Regions from separate parts of the Homo sapiens genome. Here region 2 is linked to region 1. The links are contacts of gene promoters, found by promoter capture Hi-C in blood cells and fetal thymus (Javierre and others, 2016). All regions are on one chromosome and are shown on one strand. Each heading gives the region's core, a stretch centred on a gene start or on the middle of the fragment in contact. The rest is flanking DNA. Distances are from core to core; before and after follow the strand shown. Region 1 holds the start of SLC10A7 (solute carrier family 10 member 7). Region 2 holds the start of MMAA (metabolism of cobalamin associated A).

Evidence for each region. The method cuts DNA at HindIII sites, captures the fragments that hold promoters and counts their contacts. A CHiCAGO score of 5 or more calls a contact.
Region 2: a fragment that was not itself captured here is called in contact with the fragment with the promoter of SLC10A7 in region 1 in 1 of 17 cell types (fetal thymus); the score reaches 5.8 in fetal thymus.

The regions. Positions count from the first base shown.
Region 1 is chr4:146,519,867-146,525,046 of GRCh38, forward strand. SLC10A7 (solute carrier family 10 member 7) reads right to left here and starts at 2,074. Exons shown (of 12, transcript NM_001029998.6): 1 at 1,752-2,074. The coding sequence starts at 1,851. RefSeq lists enhancers at 1,202-1,431, 1,872-1,941, 2,162-2,241, 2,252-2,671, 2,842-2,921. The HindIII fragment of the contact is 7,940 bases long and covers 875-5,180 here.
Region 2 is chr4:145,618,410-145,623,589 of GRCh38, forward strand. It overlaps MMAA (metabolism of cobalamin associated A), which reads left to right and starts at 976. Exons shown (of 7, transcript NM_172250.3): 1 at 976-998. It also overlaps the pseudogene NCOA4P3. RefSeq lists silencers at 805-1,244, 1,275-1,344. The HindIII fragment of the contact is 3,337 bases long and covers 1,219-4,555 here.

The DNA.
Region 1 (5,180 bases), core at 824-3,323:
AAACAAAGGAATGAATTATCCTACATTAAAGACAGAAGGACTAGTGGAAATGGGAAATGGCATTTCTATGATACAATAATGTACCAAAATATTAATAAGCAGAGTCTATGGAACACATAAGTTTGCAGAATCTATCTCATACATGCCACTGCAGAAAAGCCCCACGGAAATGATTCAGCATTCAACACCTTTCTTCCCACAGAATATTTAGGAATGCAAGGTAAAAGATATTTTGCCAAACTTAGCCCCTGCAGATTTAAAGTTAAAGATCATACATCCTCTGTAATTTCATCTCAAAACTGAGCAAATAAGAGATCTAACACGAGAAGCGATAGCTAGTGAAGTGTGCATTGCAGATCATGCAAAGGTACTCTAAGTCTTACTATTCATTTAGCTCCGGGGATAGGGGGTCTTCATTTGACAGACCTGATCTTCACAAGAGTTTCCCAAAAGTTCACAGAGCAGCAGTGTTAAAGAAGAAACTATTACCATCAATCAGAGGGAGAAACCACCAGGAATAACTGCTTTATTCTCACAGTTACATATTCTACACATTTTGTTCTAAGTTGAATACAGAAGAACAAAATTTTAAAACAAACAATCCTTCATCTCCACAATTTTGGTTTAAATAATTCCTTTTAAAATGTTCCCGGAAGCTACTTCTAAACAGAGTAATGGGGTGGAGGTTAAGGGGAGAAGGGACCACTGCTGTTCTCCTAAGAGATCATTTCATTCACTTCCATCATGTTTTAACAAAAAGATAAAAATAACTTCAAATATCCTCCTGAGCGCTTCCTACTATGAAATATTGTGCCTGTTCACCTCTATCCTTATTTGCTCCGGTTGCATGAGTTAGGTATTAAACCTGTCAATAAGCTTGGAAACTGACAAACAAGGTCAAAAAGACAAGCGAATTGAATAAATTCAATTAATGTTTATGAAAAGTAGTACAAGATTGTCTAAAGGTGTTGGGGGGGGCATAAAAAACTAATATTTCTAATGTTCCCACCAGTGCCCATCATCTCCTGTACAAAGCTCCCACTATTCAGAGATCTAAGTATGCTTTCAGTCCATCCACATTTCCTTGCCAAAACACACACTACACTACACTACACATAGTCTAACAGTCTGTATCTGTTAGACTGCTAGTATAGCAACTGAATCCCGGCAGCACACGGAAGTATGCTGTAATGAAGTGTCCTGTAATCAAAGAGTGCAACGTGTCAGTCGGCTTGGGAGTTTCTGGAGCACCAGCAACTACAGCAAATCATCACTCTCCAACATGTGGGCCATAAAATCTGAGTTGGGGGCGGAGGTGTCCCTTTTCTTGTTTTTCCTCCACTTTTTTTTTTAATGTGGGGGCGGGGAGGACTCGAAAGTAGACTCGATAATGAGGTCCACTCCAAGATAGATACGGAACTCTTAGCAACCTAGATTCCCTTGGGATAGGATGCTACTTTGAAGGCAAGAGGAGTAAGTTTCATTCTCTGTAACCTCACTTCTTGACACTCAGGATAGTCATTGTTTGTCTACGGAAAAGGCTACCTGCCCTCAAATTCCTTTGCCTCGTTCCTAATTACAAGTTCCCTCTGGGGTTGGTAAATTAGAAAATCAGCAAAAGGGCCAAAGGCTGGTCAGTGCCCCCTGAAATTGGCAAGCGCTTGCAATGAGGGTTGCCCCACCTTTCCAAGACTCACAAATTAGTTCTGAAGTGGGAGCCGCGGTGGAGCCGGCAGAGGTGCAGCACTTACCCCCATTCACCCCTATGGACGGCTCCAGTTTAGCTCCAGCGATCGCCAGCACTATTCCGACCATGAACCAGTCTTTCCTCATTCTCTCCAGCAGCCTCATATTTGTTAGGGTGGGTGGGTTTTGTTTATTTGTTTGGCTTTTTTTCTTTTCAAGCTCCGATCACCTAATCCTTGGAGCGTCTCCACACTTTCCTTGGTCCCTCCAGACATGCAGCAGAGCAAGTCAAATTGCCGATTGTAAAGTAAAGACCTGGGGGTTGCTCCGGCGGCTTTGAGGAGGGTTGGGAGTAGTAGTAGCCAGTGACAGGAAAGTCTCACTGAGCGCCGCCATCACTACCACGCGCCTCAGAATACACGCGCACAAACGCCCCCAGCGCCTCTGGCCGCGGGCTCGCAGGTGCAGATGCTTTGAAATGAAGAACTCGGACCAGGCCGACAACGTGGGCGATCCGGCAAGGGAGGCTGGCCGCCGGATGGGGCTGACAAGCGCACCGCTGTCGAGACCTGCGGAACCTTCTGAATGACGAGGGGTCGGGGAGAGCGTCGTAAGGCGCCACAGCCAGCAAGCCTCACTGACTGTCCTTTTCTAACAAACCTTTAGGCACAGCCACCCACCCTTCTGGAGCATATCTCCATGGAGAGCCTCTCTTTTGCTGTGCCATGACTCCGCGGGCAGGGCTGACGTGTGCTTGGGGCAAGGGATTTCTCCGTTGAAGCTGCGGCAGCGGGGTGCAAGTTTGGAGACGCGCTTCTTCGGGACATTACGGCGCTTCCACGACGCTAGCGCTGACGTATGCGCGGGGGGGAGGGGAGGCCACTCTGGATCTCCGAGTTCCCAGCCTGAGCTGCCGGAGTTAGAGGTGTCCGCGCGGGAAAGTGGCTCGCTGGTGGGCGGGGAGCCTTATCTCTGGCGGTGGGTTGAAAATCCGGCGCCGGGCAGATGCCCACGTTCGCTGGACCCCTGCTTGCCGGCGTCCGCTACAACCCAAGGAAGGTGGGCCCGACCTCGCCAGGTCGCTCGCCTGCGGGTGGGCATTTGGTCCGGATCCCCTTCCCTCTGCGGCCCACACCTGTCTCCGGGACTGGGGAGGGCTGCAGGGATCGGGGCAGATCTGCCTTTGCGGGCCGAGAGTGACAGCTGAAGTCTCCCCACCAACTAAGCTACTCGCGGGCGGAGTGGGGTCTGCGCTGGCAAGCCCCTGGGCGCGCGGGTGCCCGCTCTGGCTCGCCCCCAGGGCTGACCTACCCAAGCCACAGGAAAACTCTGGGAAGAGGGTCGCGGATTCCAACGCGGAAGTGGTGGGGGATTGAGTCTGAGAGGTTGGGGAGTCCTACCTTCCATTGCCACGAGTGCTAGTTCTATCTGCCAGTTTCTTCCTTGAAATGTCTTGTGGCAACCAGTGACATTGATGGTTTCATGAATGGACTTCCTACCGGTAGACCCTGCAAGAGCATGAACTCCACTGTATCATTCATCCAAATGAAGAAAGAAAGAAAATAGTATGTGATATTTTGAAATAACCTGGCATCTGCCACTTAAATGGTTAAAAATAGAACTTAAGGTTTGGAAGAGATTGTTTCGTGATGACAGACTTTAATTCTGAATTTATTCAAAGCTGGAAAGACACTCGTCGTGTCATTTCCTCTATTTAATTTAGCTTTATCTTGATGGCAAGACTTCCAGAAACTAAGCCACTTTAAGAGTTGTGCTCCCAGTTGTAGGTTACACAGTACCAAGTGTCATCTAATTATACATCAGGCAACATGAAAAAAAATTAATTTCAAGATAAAAAGAACTTAACAGGGAGACATAGATGACATTAAGCAGTTTACTCTGAAAAGAGACAGGTACATGAAATATAAAATTTGATGTTAGTTGTCAGGCAGTCAGAAGATAAGTGAAGATAAATGAAAGATAGTTTACAACATAATTATTTTCTTATAGTAATTTCTTAGTAGGTTAAAGAGTCATACGTCTCAGTCATTGAAGGGATAGTTTTGTATTAAAACATCATTAAACATTAAGTTTACAGAAATTGAGCTGTTTTAACTGTACAGCTATTCACAAATTATTTACTAATACCTCTTTGATCTGTGTAGAGCAGAATCTAACTCAGAGATTTTTTTGTTCTGTTTTTAATGGTACTTAAAGGAAAAGAATATAATGTACCATGAATTATATTCTCTTAAGGCCTGTATTTGTTTGCTGTGGATGCTGAAACAAATACTCGAACTTGGATGCCTTCAAACAACAGAAATTTATTATCTCACAGTTCTGGAGGACAGAAGTCCAAAATCAAGATTTTGGCAGAGCCATACTCCCGCTGAAGGCTCTAGGGGAGAGTCCTTCCTTGCCTTTTCTAGTTTCTGGTGGTGCCTTCCTTGGCTTGTAGCTAGAGTGTTCCAATCTCTGCCACTGTTTTCACATCACATTCCCCTCTGTATTTCTTTCTAGTGGCCACATTATTCTAGTTTCTGCATCCATCTTCACGTTGCACCTCCTTTTCTGTGTATCTTTTATAAAGACACTTGTCATTGGATTTAGGGCCTACCCAGATAATCCAAAATGATCTCTCAAGAGCCTTAACTCAATCACAGTAGTCCCCCCTTATCCTGAAAGGATACATTCCAAGAACCTTAGGTAGATGCCTGAAACTGCTGGTTGTACTGAACCCTATCTATATATGCTATGGTATTTTTTCTTATACATACATTCCTATGATGATAATTTTTGGTTTATATTATTAGGCACAATAAGAGATGAACAATAATTAATACAGTCAGGCATTGCTTAACCACCGGGTTACATTCTGAGAAATGTATGGTTAGACGATTTCATCATTAGAGAAACATCATAGAGTGTACTTACACAAACCTAAATAATGTAGTGTACAACACACCTAGACTATATGGTATAGCCTATTGTTCCTAGGCTGCAAACCTATACAGCATGTTACTATACTGAATACTGTAGGCAGTTGCAACACAGTGGTATTTGTGTATCTAAACATATCTAAACATAGAAAAATTACAGTATAAGAGGTTTTTTTTTTTAATGGAGTCAGGAGTAGTGGTGTGTGCCTCTAGTCCCAGCTACTTCGAGAGGGTGAGACGGGAGACTCACTTGAATCCAGGAGTTTGAGGCCAGTCTGAGTAACATAACAAGATTCCATTCCTTTAAAAAAAAAATCGTGGTATACCTGTATAGAGCACTTACTATGAATGGAGCTTGTAGGACTGGAAGTTGTTCTGGGTGGGTCAGTGAGTGAGTGGTGTATGAATGGAGCTTGTAGGACTGGAAGTTGTTCTGGGTGGGTCAGTGAGTGAGTGGTGAATGAATGTTAAGGCCTAGGACATTACACTATTGTAGATTTTATAAATACTATACTTGGGCTACATTTAATTTAACAGTTTTTAAATTCAGTAATA
Region 2 (5,180 bases), core at 1,637-4,136, 900 kb before region 1:
CATGGGCCCCATTTATAACCATATCTACTCGTCATTTGATCCTGGCTACTGCCGATGGATGCTATCTTCATCACATTATAGCAAACATTTGGGTGATTAAGTTTTTCTCAAAAATTCTAGATTAGCATACAACGGCTTTACTACTTATATGTCATCTAAGACGTTTTTTAAGAATTAGTTACTACTACGCCCAACGCAGTGAGGTAGCAAATATTATGCCTGTTTATTTTCATCTCCATTTCAGGCTTGCGCGCCTTTCCCCCCTCGGGACTTCCCGAGGACACCCCTGCAGCAGTGAGCCCGAGTCCTGGCTTTGGCTGCATGTTAAGAAATATTAATCAAAATGAATGCGTGCCCTTTAAGAGAAAAAAACTGTGGGTCCTTCAGCCTTTAAAAACCATGCCGTGGTTTAAAAACTTAAAACTATATTTCGGCAGAACGCTGAGCATTTCTTCAAATCACTCTGAGAAGCTTGAGTGTCTTTAATTTCACCGGTCTGTCAAACGTAACGCGTCTCTCCCTCACCCCACATTTTAAGTTTCCAAGGAGCGGAAGAAGGGCCTCCGGGGGTCCCGGCCGCCGCAGGCTGCTGGGGGTGAGGACACGACTCGGCCTCCGTCCGACTCGAGGGTGTCGCGAAGGCCAGGAGGGAACGAAAGTTACCCTCGAACTTCGGAGGCGAAAGATTTCATGTGGATCTTAAAAAGGGCAAAACCTACCCCAAAGGCCGTAAACCGCCCTCCCCTCCCCCGCCAGAGAACTTCCCGGCGCAGAGCTTCCGCAGCCTGCTGCAGGCCGGGAGACCTTCACGCTCACTCGCTCTCCGCCACACGCCGGAACTGCGCGGCCACGTCCACGGGGACCCTGGCCATGCCCCGCACCGCCACCCAGCCCCAGGCGATCCCCGGGCCCCACGCGCCTGCAGTCGGCGCTGCGCCTGCGTGGGAGGATCCGGCGGAAGGGGCGGGGTCAGGTGGCACTTCCGTGGCTTCGGGCGGGTGAGTATGGGGAGTGCGCGCGGCGTCCAGGAGTCGGGACTGGGCTCCCGCCTACGGCCGCCCTCCCGCCGGGGGGCCAGCGCGGTCCTCCGGGGCGCCCCCTGGAGGATTTGGGGTGGGGGAAGGAAAAGGAGAGTATTATCGAATATTCTCCTAATATTGATGTTCGGGGTGCGGATATGTGTGGACAGGCAGGAGTCGGCAAATGGGTTCAAATGGAAGCTTTAACAAAGAAAGGCCCTGTACGTAAACAGTGTTTTAAAATTCTCATCTTGGTTAGGTTTCTCAGGTTATCTCTGAGCCACAGCAAGGCAGCTTTGTTAAGGTGGCTCTTCCCTTGTCGCTGCCAAACCCGGTAAATGGTTAACCTGAGGCCGCGTCAGAGAAAGCCACTATGACTCCTACCAAAGAGTGAAATTGAAACTCTTTTCTGGGAAATCAAATCCAGGATATAAAAGTTGGATTCAAACTAAAAGTTACAAACAGTATCTAGGTTCCGTCACATGGCGTGCCGGGCAGGGTCTAAATCTCTTTCAGCAGAGGGCATGCTGTCTTCATATGTATTTCTCATTAGAAAATGAAAGACGACCTAAACCAAAATAATATAAAAATTTTTTATTATCTGTCTTAAGAGTTGTACCCTAATCCATATGTTTAGAAAACATAAACTAATAAAACTTTTCCAACTTGGTAGAAAGCCAAAAGTTTCCAGAAAAACTGTGTGGATTATTCAGCATTTTGCTGTTGTCTACAATGTTCAGAATATTCTTTTACAATAATTTTGCACTAAATACCGGTTTGTGTTCAGGGTAACAAGAGGTTTTTAAAAAGTCAAAGACAAGGACAGGTTTTTTAAGGGCTGTATTCTATTAGGAGAGACAAAACAAGCATGAAAAGTTACATATCCATAAGAAATGTAAATCACCATTTGAGATATTTGAAGATGTCAAAAGAAAACCTTTATTTAGAATGGAAAGAGCTGGTGAATGCTCGAAACATTTACCATTTAGCTGATTGTTGCCATGTGGGAATGGGGGTCTCTCAAACGCAGATCCGATTTTCTCCAACACAGGCCAAAGATCTGTATTTTTACGTATTTTTTCTTGATTTTTAATGTTACTTGCAACCAATTTAGTTAACACACACCTTCTGTGGGTGGGCCAGGTGCAACTAGTTTGTGACCTCTGCAGATTTTCACCTTAGTACAGTCCTACACTTACACAATGGTTCAGTTAAAGATTTTTTGACTTTACAGTGGGTTTATCCAGACACAGACCCGATTGTAAGATGAAGACTCTTTGTATTCAGAAATAATTGGAATTAGAGGTCAGAAAAAGTCCTAGAGACTGGGATGGTCAGGAAAGATTTTAAGCTGGGTAGTATAGGAGAGATATCATAGAGGGGGAAGGATGTAAAAGATGAGTTAAATCTTGGGGTTGGGAGAGTTGGCAGGTTTGGAAGATAGTAAACTCTCCTTAGAGGAATTTTGGAAAGGCAAGCGCAAGAGGTGCTGCTGGCCTGGGGACTACACTTTGAGAACCACTGTCCTAGGGTACGGTGAACTTTTGGAGGAATTTGAGTAGGAGGCTAAGGAGATCACATTCACCTTTCAGAATGAGTCTTGCTGTGAAGTCTGAAAGGAGGACTGAGGAGGGAGAGAGAAAAGAGGAAAGTTTCTTAGAGGTGATTAGCACCTGCTTGATGCCAGGCCCTGTGCCAGGCTCTCTCATGCATACTCATTTATACTCACCATGATCCTGATACGTAGATCTTAATGTTTTCATTTTGTAAGTGAAGGAACTTTGAGAATATGAGAAATTACCCAGGTTCCATAGTTGGTCTCAGAGCTTCCTAGTTCAAGCCTGGATTTGAAATAGGGTGGTAGCAGTGGGAATCAAAACATTTAATGGTGATGGAATTTAGAAAAATAGAGACTTCTCAAGCACATTTAAGCCTAAAAGTAGGAATTGGGAAATCTGAATCTTACTGGAAAAGTGATAAAAAGTAAAGTGGACAGAGAACTTTAGAGAATCCCTTCATGAATTTGGTATTTGTTCTTTATTACTCTTAACTCATGATGACCTATTTAAAACCTATTTAAAAGTTGCTTATTTAAGAAGTCATCCTGCTCTACAAAAGTTTCCTGAAATTATTTGAAAAAGAGAAAATAAAGCCTTCTGTGGTTGGGGGGGGTGGAATATGGTAAACAGATTAATGGCATTTGACAGCTTATCTTCAAATCAAAAGTGATTAGCATTGAGAAATGGAAACACTTGGTACAACACTGCATTGCCTGTACGAATTGTGCTGTGCTGCAGACACTGATCTACTGTATTGATTTAGGAAATTCTGTATGCTTTTTCTTGCCAGAGTAGTTATTGAAATTGAGAATATTCATTGGATCAATTTCAAGATAAATATCCCAAGTCAGACTGGCTGCTGCTGAGCAAATTTTTAATGAAGGAAAATATCCATATATTGAAATCAGTTTAAAAAGAAAGTCCTTAAAATATATTACTGTAAAATCTAGAAAAAAATGTACATTTTAGAAACATCAATTAACTGAGTAATCAGTGTAGTGGAGTTATTGACCCATGCAGAATTATGGTGTACATTCATTAATTCTGTGAGCAAATAATTGTGCTATAAATACAAAGATAACTGATATGGTTTGGCTGTGTCCCTACCCAAATCACATCTTGAATTGTAACTCCCACAATCCCCATGTGTCATGGGAGGAGCCTGGTGAGAGGTGATTGAATTATGGGGACAGGTCTTTCCTGTGCTGTTCTCATGATAGTGAATGAGTCTCATGGGATCTGATGGTTTTAAAAATGGGAGTTTCCCTACACAAGCTCTCTCTTTCCTTGCTGCCATCCATGTAAGACATGACTTGCTCCTCCTTGCCTTCAGCCATGATTGTGAGGCTTCCTCAGCCACATAGAACTGTAAGTCCATTAAACCCTTTTTCCTGTATAAATTACCCAGTCTCGGGTATGTCTTTATCAGCAGCCTGAAATCAGACTAATATACTAGATATGGCCTACTTTTGAGATATCTTACTGAATCTTGTAAAGCTGGGGAATTTCTCTTGTATTTTGATAGTGCTTAGCTTACAAATTGTAGGATGAAGCCATATTCTCGGGAATCATGAAAATTAGTTGAAACATTTTGATTTGATTATTATTATTTTATGGCTGTTATGCTTTTGATGGAGGCAGATACAAAATTCATCAATGCAAAATAATGTTTTACATACTCATTAACATAGTGATTAATGTAAACTATATTTTGACAATGTAAAATACAGTGTGTTTGGCCTCAAAAAAGAAACTACAGAGTTAGCTGCAACTTAAGATAACTGGAAAGGCTCCTTACATTGTTTTTTGCCCACCACCTTTATTATAATAGTTCTATATGATGTCTGGGGAGGGAATTAAAAAATAATACAAAGCTCTTTCAGCTGTGGTTCAGAGAACTCTAGTGAAGCTGTATGGCAATGACACTGTGAGTCCATGAAGTTTCCCCAGAAGTATTTCAATAAGAGGCAGTTAAGAAGCTTAATAGTTTCAAAGTCTGGAAAGCAGCAAATATATCTTAGAGAATTTAAAAACATTATAAATATAAAACCCACTTCTCTCTTACAGAGACATTTTAAAGCATGGACATAACTTTAAGGAGATTGAGAAAACATCAGTAGTTTTCATAAAGCTTCAATGAACACCCCAAGGCACAAGTGTTGAAAATGGCCTGTTCACTAAAATGTCACTTTTGGAGGTACAGGTATACTGTACTTACAGTGAGAGGATGACTTTATCCCTGGTTAAAAGCACCAGGTGTCAAGCTCCACTTCCATTACCCAGGATGCACCAATAATCCCTATGATAGTGAATGGTTCAAGTACTATACTACATTTCCAACATGTCTTTTGCCTATTTGCTTAGTTGGTACTAGGGTTCTTTTGAACCCCACAGGTGTGTAGAATATTTTAAAAGGCTAGAACTACCTCAAAAATAGTCTTGAAATAATACCGAGCCCTTCTAAAAGAGCTCACTGGATATTTTAATAACATTTACAGAAAGAAAGAAAGACAAAATTTGCAGTAGCTGAGTTTCTTTCAAGTGAAGAATAATAATGTAGAACATGTAGTCTAAAATGTTTGGTAATTAATGTCAAAAGTTC